Linked DNA regions of Homo sapiens: region 1 is linked to region 2. Evidence: promoter capture Hi-C in 16 types of primary human blood cells and fetal thymus (Javierre and others, 2016). All regions are on one chromosome and are shown on one strand. Each heading gives the region's core, a stretch centred on a gene start or on the middle of the fragment in contact. The rest is flanking DNA. Distances are from core to core; before and after follow the strand shown. Region 1 overlaps CACNB2 (calcium voltage-gated channel auxiliary subunit beta 2). Region 2 holds the start of SLC39A12 (solute carrier family 39 member 12).

What was found. Contacts are between HindIII fragments. The CHiCAGO score rates a contact against its expected background, and 5 or more counts as called.
Region 1: a contact is called between a fragment that was not itself captured here and the fragment with the promoter of SLC39A12 in region 2, in 1 of 17 cell types (M2 macrophages). The highest score is 5.5, in M2 macrophages.

What each region holds. Positions count from the first base shown.
Region 1 is chr10:18,220,257-18,225,646 of GRCh38, reverse strand. The region is part of intron 2 of CACNB2 (calcium voltage-gated channel auxiliary subunit beta 2); the gene reads right to left. Among named protein-coding and RNA genes, the nearest start is that of CACNB2-AS2, 39 kb to the left of the region's middle. The HindIII fragment of the contact is 2,157 bases long and covers 514-2,670 here.
Region 2 is chr10:17,947,999-17,953,216 of GRCh38, reverse strand. SLC39A12 (solute carrier family 39 member 12) reads right to left here and starts at 1,299. Exons shown (of 13, transcript NM_001145195.2): 1 at 1,192-1,299; 2 at 1-26. The HindIII fragment of the contact is 2,620 bases long and covers 226-2,845 here.

The sequences.
Region 1 (5,390 bases), core at 343-2,842, 270 kb before region 2:
AAAGGAAAAGAAAGAAAGGAAGGAAGGAAGAAACGACGGAAGAAAGGAAGGAAGGAAGGAAGGAAGGAGCGAGGGAGGGAGGGAGGGAGGGAAAAGAAAGAAAAGAAAGAAAAAGAAAAGAAAAGAGAGAGAGAAAATTATTTGAATGAAGACTAACACAGAGCCTGCCTGTGGTGTCACGAATCCTGGTTCAGTCCTGGACCCAGGCCATATTTCTTAAACCCTCAGTTTCTTACATTGTAAAATGGGGCATCTAATATTTATCATGAAAGGCTGTTGTAATATTTTGAGGTGACCTACGAAAAGTTTGCATCAAGTAGGGACTTAATAAACTGGAAGTGAGTGGTGTGGTTTTTAAGCTGCTTAGCCCTGTCTCTCCAGGCTTTACCCTCCCCCATCCCCCATCCTCTGCCAGGGATTTTGTAATATCTGATATTAAAAAGGTTCTGCCGACTCCTCCCAGCTCAACAGAACATGGAAAAATACAATAGATCACTTTAAAAAAAAAAAGCTTATTATGTGCAGCCAAAAGCCTGAGAAACAGCAGGTCACATAAAATGAAGGAAATGAAATGTCCATGCTAAGTAATTATGTAGCCTTGGCCTTGAGCAAACAGAGGGCTGGCTGACATCAGAAAAGAACAAGGGCCATAGAGAGCGAAACACGCGGACACCTTGGTGTCCACACTAGGCTCATCCTGAAAAAGGGAGTGGAAATTGACAGGCTGAGGTATAGATGAATGTGCCTGTCAGGATGTAGCAGGGAGGAGGCGGAGCTTAGGCCACCTTAAGGGAGGACTGAGGCCCTTTAACCTGTTTCTGCTCCTGCAATCTGGAGATGGCATGACTTCGATTTGGCTCGGCAGGCCGTAAAAGCCCGCAGTAAAGTTATTACCTTGAAAGAGTGATTCTATATTGGACTGAACTCCCACAAACGCTGGGCTGGTCATGGTTGTGGGACGTAGGCCTTCTGTTCCCAAGCATAACCTCCTACTCTCTGACACAGGAGACTAGGGGGCCCAGGTTCTCATCCAGGTTCTATCAGAACGAGCTTCTTAACCTGATCCAAGTTGCTAACTAACTTGGGGTAAAATGAGAATATGAGCATCTGTCCCAACCCTTCGTGGGTTAGAGAAAGAAATTCTTTGGAAAGTATAAAGTAGCTACAAAATGAGGAACTTTAAGGAGCCGGGTAATTTTCTTCAATAAAATGGATTTCCTTTAATTTTGTATGAAACTCACTTCCCAAAATCGATTTCATATCAGCTGAGCTTTGAGACTACAAAGAAATTGGAATTTTTTTTTTTTTGAAGGGAGAAGTTGAAAGAGGGAGGGAAGAGGAGGGAGAAGGCACACGGAAGGTAGGTCTTAATCATATTTAAGCCTGATAAAAAGGAGTTAGAAAGTTTGCTGTGTTTAAAGCAGTTGTTCATAGTCCTAGAAACCATTCTAGCCAAAAAAGACAAGAAACAGCAGAGACTTTCGCTAAGAGGTTTAGGAAAAGCAAACATTGCAAAAGAGTAATATTTTATTTTATATCTAATTTGTCCTTATTACTCATCTCTAGGGCCACCTAAAAGCAGTCCTTATCAAACTAAACCTCATTAATTCTAGATATGAAAATGAGTCCACTTTTCCCAGGACAAAAAAAAAAAATAGACCCCTTAGTTTAAGATGCAGTGATATGTTAGTAGAAGGGGTAGGCTGCCTATTATCTATTTTTCTGTACATATTTCACTAGATGGAAGAGTTCCCATTTTCTAAGAGCCTAGCAGTTTCTGTTTTATTGGGGGGAAAAGCAACACAAAGGGAAAATTTAAAAATAAAATTTCTGCAATAGGATTCTGTCTCTGAAATTGAAGACAAAAATTCTCCTTAATATTATTACAGCTTTATTTTTAAAAACTAAAAAGGAAATTAAAATATTAATAGTGGTTGTATCTGGTGATGAAAGAAAAAGACTGTAGTACTTTTAAATGTTTTGTTAGTTACCATATAATAGTTTATACTGAAAAATTTCATTTTTAAATAAAGAAAAAAATGTTTCCTAATGTAAAAAGAAGGGAACATAGGAGCATTCTGTTTTATGTGCTTTTCTGCATAAGTATTAAAAACTACTACATTTTTACTATAACGATTGCTCCTGAAAATCGTGTAAAATACATTAAATAATCAATAATTATTCATGGAACAAGAGGAATGTATTAGTAGTGTAATACTCTTTTGCTTTCACAAAAATTAAATATGCTAAATGAAATTTCATTTATTCATTCAACAAACATTGGCTGGATGTATATTACTGACTAGCCTCTTTAATGACATTCTCTTCTGCAGTGCTGTGGAGTTGTAATTATTTATGCCAATTATTAATATTCAGTATTACATATATAGAAGGTGTTGGATATATGATTTAATAGTTCATATTTGAAGACCAGATATGTAGGGATTAAGCAAAAGGCATCAAAATCAAACAAATCTTTCTGAAGCAAAATTAGCAATGCTCAAAATCCTATTTAAATGGCTCATCTGTGTGTGTGTCATGCCCATAAATATGCCCATGACTGACAGCAAACCAGAAAGCCTTCTGGAGTTGTGTCAGATGGGATTTTTGAGTCATTTATGTAACACACAGAACACTCAAAGCAACAAAGTTAACAAAGGAATGAAAGCTTACTTTTGAGGCAAGTTTCACATCTTTTATTTTTCTTTTTGAGATGGAGTCTCACTCTGTCGCCCAGGCTGGAGTGCAATGGCGCAATCTCAGCTCACTGCAACCTCCGCCTCCTGGGTTCAAGAAATTCTCCTGCCTCAGCCTCCCAAGTAGCTGGGATTACAGGCGTCCACCACCACGCCCAACTGCTTTTTGTATTTTTAGTAGAGACAGGGTTTTACCATGTTGGCCAGGCTGGTCTTGAACTCCTGAACTCAGACGATCCACTCACCTCGGCCTCCCAAAGTGCTGGGATTACAGGCATTAGCCACTGTGCCTGGCCATTTCACATCTTTTATGCTCAATGTGCTTTTGAATCCAATGCCAGTTTTTGCATGTCATCCATGAATATCTCAGCAGGCATCTCTAAATGATCGGTACTACTTAAATAGAACCTAATAACAAAAGCCATTATCACAAGCAAACAAACAAACAAAAAATAGTAACTCTTTAATATCAGCAAACATCCAGTCTGTGTTCTTATTTCGCAGAGGGTCTCACAGAATTTGTGTGTGTGTGTGTGTGTGTGTATGTGTGTGTGTTTTCAATCATTTGTTTAAATCAGGATCCAAATAAGGTCTAAACATTGCAACTGGTTGCTGGGTCTTATGTTTCTTTCCTCTGCAGATTCCCCATTTCTTCCCATTGTCCCCTTAGCAATGGGGTCATAAAAGAAAACTGGTCATTTGTCCTACAGAATTTCACACAATCTGGGTTCTGCCTCGGCATGTGGTCATTTAACATATTCCAGTGTAGGCTGCTGTTTCAATCTAGAGGTTGGATCGGATTGTGATGTGAATGTGGCAGGACACGTCACAGGTGTATTGTGTACTCCTGCCAGGGATACACACTGCCAGGTTCTTCCTTTCCTTGTAACGTTAGCAACTACTGATATCACTGCCTTTCTTTGGCAAGTTTGCCAGCCAATCTCTAGGACTGCATAATGGTGAAATCCTAATTCTCTGGTCCCTCCTTTGTGTAGTAGATGAAATACTTCTATAAAGAGAAACTACCTCAATACCAATTGGGCCAATGCTACTTTCCAAAAGGAAACACTGCAAGCTTTTGATAAAGACAGAACACAAAATGCCTTCCAAAATTCTGGATTGGTTTCCATGGATAAAAAGAAAACTATACTAGAGGAGAGAAAGATATGATTTTCAAACATTTTACTTCTTTTGCAATGAATTTATAAAGGTCTTTTAAAATGGTTTTCAGTGCTCATGAACACAAAGGTTTTCATTTTTTACTTTTATTTTTTGAGACAGTCTCGCTCTGTTGCCCAGGCTGGAGTGCAGTGGCGCAATCTCAGCTCACTGCAACCTTCACCTCCCAGGTTTAAGCAGTCCTCCCACCCCAGCCTCCCAAGGAGCTGGGACTACAAGCAAGAGGCACCACATCCAGCTAACTTTTGTATTCTTAGTAGAGACAGGGCTTCACCATGTTGGCCAGGCTGGTCTCGAACTCCTGGCCTCAAGTGATCCTCTTGCTTCAGCCTCCCAAAGTGCTGGCATGACCAGCATGAGCCACCATGCCTGGTGCTTTTTTTAAACTGAGACTTGTGAACTATGTAATGAATTCTGAAAGAACAGTAATAGGTCCAGGAATTAGCAGATGTGAGTGTTTGTATGAGTAACAGTCAATTCTGAACTCCCATATTGTTCCATGACACAATCAACAGTACTGCTATTGCCTTTGGAACGAATTTATATAGTCACGCTAGAATGGAAGCAGGTGTCAAGTTTTGAAAATTCTTAAGATTCGAGGAAAAAGATGAATACCTTTCAAAAGAACCTCTTACCAAAGGCATAAAGTGGCCTGGCTGCCCCCTGCCCTTCTCTCCTCCCTCTTCTCTGAGCCTCTCTAACTACAGAAAAGAGCCAGGCAGGCAGAACTGCCCAGCCCCCATCCAGGTTGATTTCTTTAGATCACAAGCATGAGTATTTGTATTTTTCTATAAAAGGGAACCATTCAAACTTCATCCATTTAGGGCCCTCTACATTAGTGGTCCCCAAACTTTTTGGCACCAGAGGCCGGTTTCATGGAAGATAAGTTTCCCACGGACTAGGGGGGATTGTAGGGAATGGTTTTGGGATGAAACTGTTCCACCTCAGATCATCAGACATTAGATTCCCATAAGGAACGCGCAACCTGGATCCCTGACACGTGCAGTTCACAGTAGGGTTTGCACGCTCCTATGAGAATCTGATGCTGCTGCTGATCTAACAGGAGGTGGAGCTCAGGCTGCAATGCTTGCTTGCCAGGCGCTCACCTACTGCTGGGCGGCCTGGTTCCTAACAGACCACAAGCCAGTACTAGTCTGCTGCCTGGGGTTTGGGGGCCTCTGCTCTAGTCTAAAGAAATAAACACAGATAAGGCTGGGTGCGGTGGCTCACACCTGTAAGCCCAGAACTTTGGGAGACTGAGGCAGGCAGATGACTTGAGGTCAGGATTATGAGCCCAGCCTGGCCAACATGGTGAAACCCTGTTAAAAATATATATTAAAAAAAATTAGCTGGGCATGGTGGCAGGTGCCTGTAGTCGTAGCTACTTGGGAGGCTGAGACAGGAGAATCACTTGAATGCAGGAGGGGAGGGTTGCAATGAGCTGAGATCACACCACTGCACTCCAGTCTGGGTGACAGAATAAGATTCTCTCTCTTTCTCTCTCTCTCTCTCTCT
Region 2 (5,218 bases), core at 50-2,549:
GGGTAAACTTGTAACCAAAGGAATTTCTGTGGTAAAGGGGAAAAATAAAGCCTTCAATTATTGTGCCTGCAACATGTTTGAAAGGATTCATTAATTGGGTGGCTAAGCTGATTTGCAATGACAAGCTGTTTCTACACAGCGGGGGTCTGTAGGTAATTTCTAACCCCAAATGGCAGGAAAGCACCATGGCTGTAGACTTTCAAACTGCACAGCAGCCAAAAAGCTTGCTAGATTCTCTCTCCCTAAACTAAACATAGCGTCACGTAAGTTTCTCCATTTACCAACAGGTGGTACAAGTTATAGGACCCAGGTTGGGAAACACCTTATGTTTATCCCATTATAAAGAACTCCAAGTGATTCATGGTCCTCATGAAAAAGAGAAAATAAATTCTACTAAATGACCAACATCATGTTGAGTTTAAAAGTTTTAGGCCAGGCGCGGTAGCTCACACCAGTAATCCCAGCACTTTGGGAGGCTGAAGCAGGCAGATCACGAGGTCAGGAGTTTGAGACCAGCCTGGCCAATATGGTGACACCCCCGTCTCTACTGAAAATACAAAAATTAGCCAGGTATGGTGGCACGTGCCTGTAGTCCCAGTTACATGGGAGGCTGAGGCAGAAGAATTGCTTGAACCCGGGAGGCGGGGGTTGCAGTGAGCCAAGATCGTGCCACTGCACTCCAGCCTGGGCGACAGAACAAGACTCCATCTCAAAAAAAAAAAAAAGAAAAAAGAAAAAAGAAAAAAAAAGAGTTTTAGACAAGGAAAAGCACTAGAAGAAAATAGTAATGTTCAGAAAACACAGGTCTTTTTTTTAGTTTACTAAGAATCAAGATTCTAGAGCAGGAAGCATCTTAGAAAAACAGAATTTCGAGACCTCAAGAACATGACACACACACACACACACACTCACTCAGTGGTGACTAAAGGAGTGGGGGATGACTTTAGAGCCAATCAACTTCCTGGAAAAAAAAATTATCTTTCTGTTGATGGCTTAAGGCATGTAAAATGTTAACAGCATCTCATGTCCGATCCTGGCCCAGAGATGAGCTGGTAAATGACTGTGGGCTAGTAACAAAGGTACTGGGATTACTTTTATGAGTTAAAAACAACAACAACACTTTAAGGTTGTTATGTTAGCAATTTAAAAGTGACAGAGGATGATGCAAGCATTTCTAACCCCAGTGCTTACCTTCAGAAGAAAGATAAACGATTCTTTATCTGGAGCTCCACAGCCTTTTAAATCCTGGAGAGTATTTCACAGTTACAAAGTTCCCTGTTTTTAAAATTCTTTGACTGTGCACTGGGAGCTAGAGAGGATTATTTCAGCCCAGAAAAGTTTTCAGTTGCTATGGAGAGAGCTGCTCTGAAGGTAACAATGAAGGTGGATAAAAGGGAGAACTTTCTGTCTGGTAGATTTTCAAGGTAATCAAATCAGTGTGGTTCATGAATTTAACTTTTTAGATCAAGAATTAACCAATTTTCTTAGGCTCACCTACTGTCACTTGCCTTTCAAGGGACAGAATCTAGGTCAAAGGATTTCACCTCGCAGAATAGAAAGACTTCAGTGTTAGATGAAGATTTTTTCCTCTCCAGTTGATTCTGTAATAACTGTTTCATCCAGGCTCAAACCAAAGATTTGTTGAAAAGATAGGCTCTTTGGAACCATATTTGTTTTGCAAGATGCAGAAGCCTAAAAGATTGAAGTCTTTCGTAATGAGATGCTTTCAAATGAAAAGTATTGGTTGAAGGAATGAAATTCTTACCAGGGATGTAGGTAGCATAAATGAGGAACTTTAATCAGCTGCATATATTGTGATCACCAGCACCGGTGGTAGTTCTTACATCAGATCCTTCATGCTCCTCAAAACAAAACCTCTCAACAAATTATTAGTGAATAAATGACTAAAGGAACAAAGTGGTTCATTTTCTAGGAAGCAAGAGAAGTTAAATCCTAAGATTTCAGAGTGGGCAGAATGCATGCCCACAGTATAGGGGTTTAAGTCAGCTGGTGGGCAGGTAGAGGAAATTTGAGATCAGGATGATTAGCCTCATCACTAATTGTATATGAAACACGGGAACCCTGCGGTAGGATATTCCTGAGAGAATGCTAGTAATGAGAGATGACAACTTGCTAGCAGCCCTGGCTCGCTCTTGGCGCCTCCTCAGCCTCAGCTTCAGCTCTCTCCGTCTTCAAGGAGCCCTTCAGCCCGCCGCTGCGCTGTGGGGGACCCTCTCTGGGGCTGGCCGAGGCCGGAGCCGGCTCCCTCTGCTTGCCGGGAGGTGTGGAGGGAGAGGCGTGGGCGGGAACTGGGGCTTGATCAGAGGCTGAATCCCGTGCGTGGACCAGAACGTTGGCCACGATGGCGGGTCTCCATCTCTTTCTTGCTTCCCGTCTTTTGCTCTTGATTGTCTGGGACGAGCTCCCTCTAGGCTGCTGGAGTGCCCGGGCTAGGTGCTCCGGATAGGTGCCACAAAGTCCCGTGGCTAGTGCCAGTGAGAGGTGAAGCCAGCTGGGCTTCTGGGATGGTGGGGACTTGGAGAACTTTTCTGTCTAGCTAAAGGATTGTAAAAGCACCAATCAGCGCTCTGTGTCTAGCTAATCTGGTGGGGACTTGGAGAACGTTTGTGTCTAGCTAAAGGATTGTAAGCACACCAATCAGCACTCTGTGTGTAGCTAAAGGTTTGTAAACGCACCAATCAGCACTTTGTCAAAATGACCAATCAGCTCTCTGTAAAATGGACCAATCAGCAGGACGTGGGTGGGGCCAGATAAGGGAAGAAAAGCAGGCCACCCCAGCCAGCAGCGGCAACCAGCTCAGGTCCCTTTCTATGCTGTGGAAGCTTTGTTCTTTCACTCCTCGCAATAAATCTTGCTGCTGCTCACTCTTTGGGTCCATGCCACCTTTATGAGCTGTCACACTCACCGGGAAGGTCTGCAGCTTCACTCCTGAAGCCAGCAAGACCATGAACCCACCAGAAGGAACAAACAACTCCAGACGTGCTGCCTTTAAGAGCTATAACACTCACCGCGAAGGTCTGCAGCTTCACTCCTGAAGTCAGCGAGACCACGAACCCACCAGAAGGAAGAAACTCCGGACATATCTGAACATCTGAAGGAACAAACTGCAGACACACGATCTTTAAGAACTGTAACACTCACCGCAAGGGTCCATGGCTTCATTCTTGAAGTCAGTGAGACCAAGAACCCACCAATTCCGGACACAGTAACACGGATGGAAATACGAAAGGCAAATATTCCTAGAAAATTTCAGGCTTTTTTTTTTTTAGATGGAGTCTCACTCTGTCACCCAGGCATGAGTGCAGTGGCATGATCTTGGCTCACTGCAACCTCCACCACCTGGGTTCAAGTGATTCTCCTGCCTCAGCTTCCTGAATAGCTGGGATTACAGGCAAGTGCCAGCACACCTGGCTAATTTTTTTGTATTTTTAGTAGAGACAGGGTTTCGCCATTTAATGGTGGCTAGGCTGGTCTCGAACTCCTGACCTCAGGTGATCCACCCACCTAGGCCTCCCAAAGTGCTGGGATTACAAGCGTGAGCCACTGCACCCAGCCCAGGGTTCTCTGTAATAAGCCCTCAGGGAACAGTTGGGCTTAACTGTCAAGGAAAGGAACTTGGCTTGTGTCTTGTGAGCTCTGTGCTGAGATTAACTGAAGTTAGAGTCTAGAATCAGCAGTCAAAGAGGGCAGCAGGGAGTTGGGACTGAAAGTCACGCCCTTTAAGCTGAGAGTCCAGTGGAGGCAGAGAAGCAAGGAGGGAGCAGGCTCAGGACCAGAGGGGCACCCGATCACAGCTCCCTGTGAGCTCCTCTCAGTGCCAGCTCTCATCCCCGGGGACCACTTGAGCATCTTTTTTTTTTTTTTTTTTTTTGAGACAGAGTTTTGCTCTTGTTGCCCAGGCTGGAGTGCAATGTTGTGATCTTGGCTCACCGCAACCTCCACCTCCCAAGTTCAAGCAATTCACTTGCCTCAGCCTCCTGAGTATCTGGGATTACAGGCATGTGCCACCACAGCCAGCTAATTTGTTTGTGTTTTTAGTAGAGATGGGGTTTCTCCATGTTAGCCAGGCTGGTCTCAATTGAGCATCATTTATAAGCTGTGTCCCAGTCTCTAAGACTTGGTGATGAGATCACTAAGGAGAAATAGTCCAATCCCTATTCAGCAAGTTCTCTGGTCCCACTATCACCTACGTTAACTTGCCAAAAAAAATCACACAAATTTAGAAAATAGACTTTATTTCTTATAAATGGGTTACAGCCTGCTAGGCGGCCACTCTGATAGGCTGGGAATCACAGCCTTGGCCATCCAGCATTTGCAGGCACTTCACAGGAGGAGGCACTGGGGCAGGAGACTTACGCTCTGAACATGTTGGCAAAACATACATATTCAATAGGTTACAGGAGGTGCTATGAATATTCATTAAAGGTCATCCTGATGCATGTGTATTGAACATGCATCTAACACACAACCCATGTTCACCTTGAGGTGGAGACTTAAAGTTTAAATGTATTACAATTAGGTCCTATATGTCAAAAGGTGAAGGAGACACACAGAGGTATTCAGTATGTAGCTTCTGAAAACCGGCTAGAACCAGTCCATGGCCAGTGGTCTCCAATCAGGAGAAAGTTACTGAAATCAGTCTCTCGTCCAATCAAAGCTGTAGTTCTGGCTGGTAGAATGAGGTGTCAGTCAGTGCCTGCAGGCTGGATGAGTTGTAATTGTTTTCATATTGCTTACCTCAAGGCCAGCGCTTGTTTAGCTGCTAGAGAAAAATAAAAACCTAGTGGCAGTTAGAACTTAGCTTAGGGTATGGTACTTAACTCTTGTATGGTATGGTCTCAGGACCTGTTCATAATTTGGCATCTTATTGCCACAAAGAGTCCATTCCAGTCTTACAGTCTCTATTTTAATATGAATGCTGGTCAGTGGTTGTGTCTAAACTGCAAAAGAGAGGAGGTACGACAAGGCATATCTGACCTTCCATCAGTCATAGCCAGGAACTCAGTTTTTAAGGTTTCTCTTGGGTCCCCTTGGCCAAGAGGGGATCCATTCACTCAACTGGATGGCTTAGGATTTTTAGTTACACCTGATACTTCCAAGTACCTGTCATTTGCCCTTGTCCCTGCAATTACCCCCACTTCCTGGCCCATCTCCAATGAGCAGATAACCTGCCTTGTTGCTGCAGGACTGGATCCTG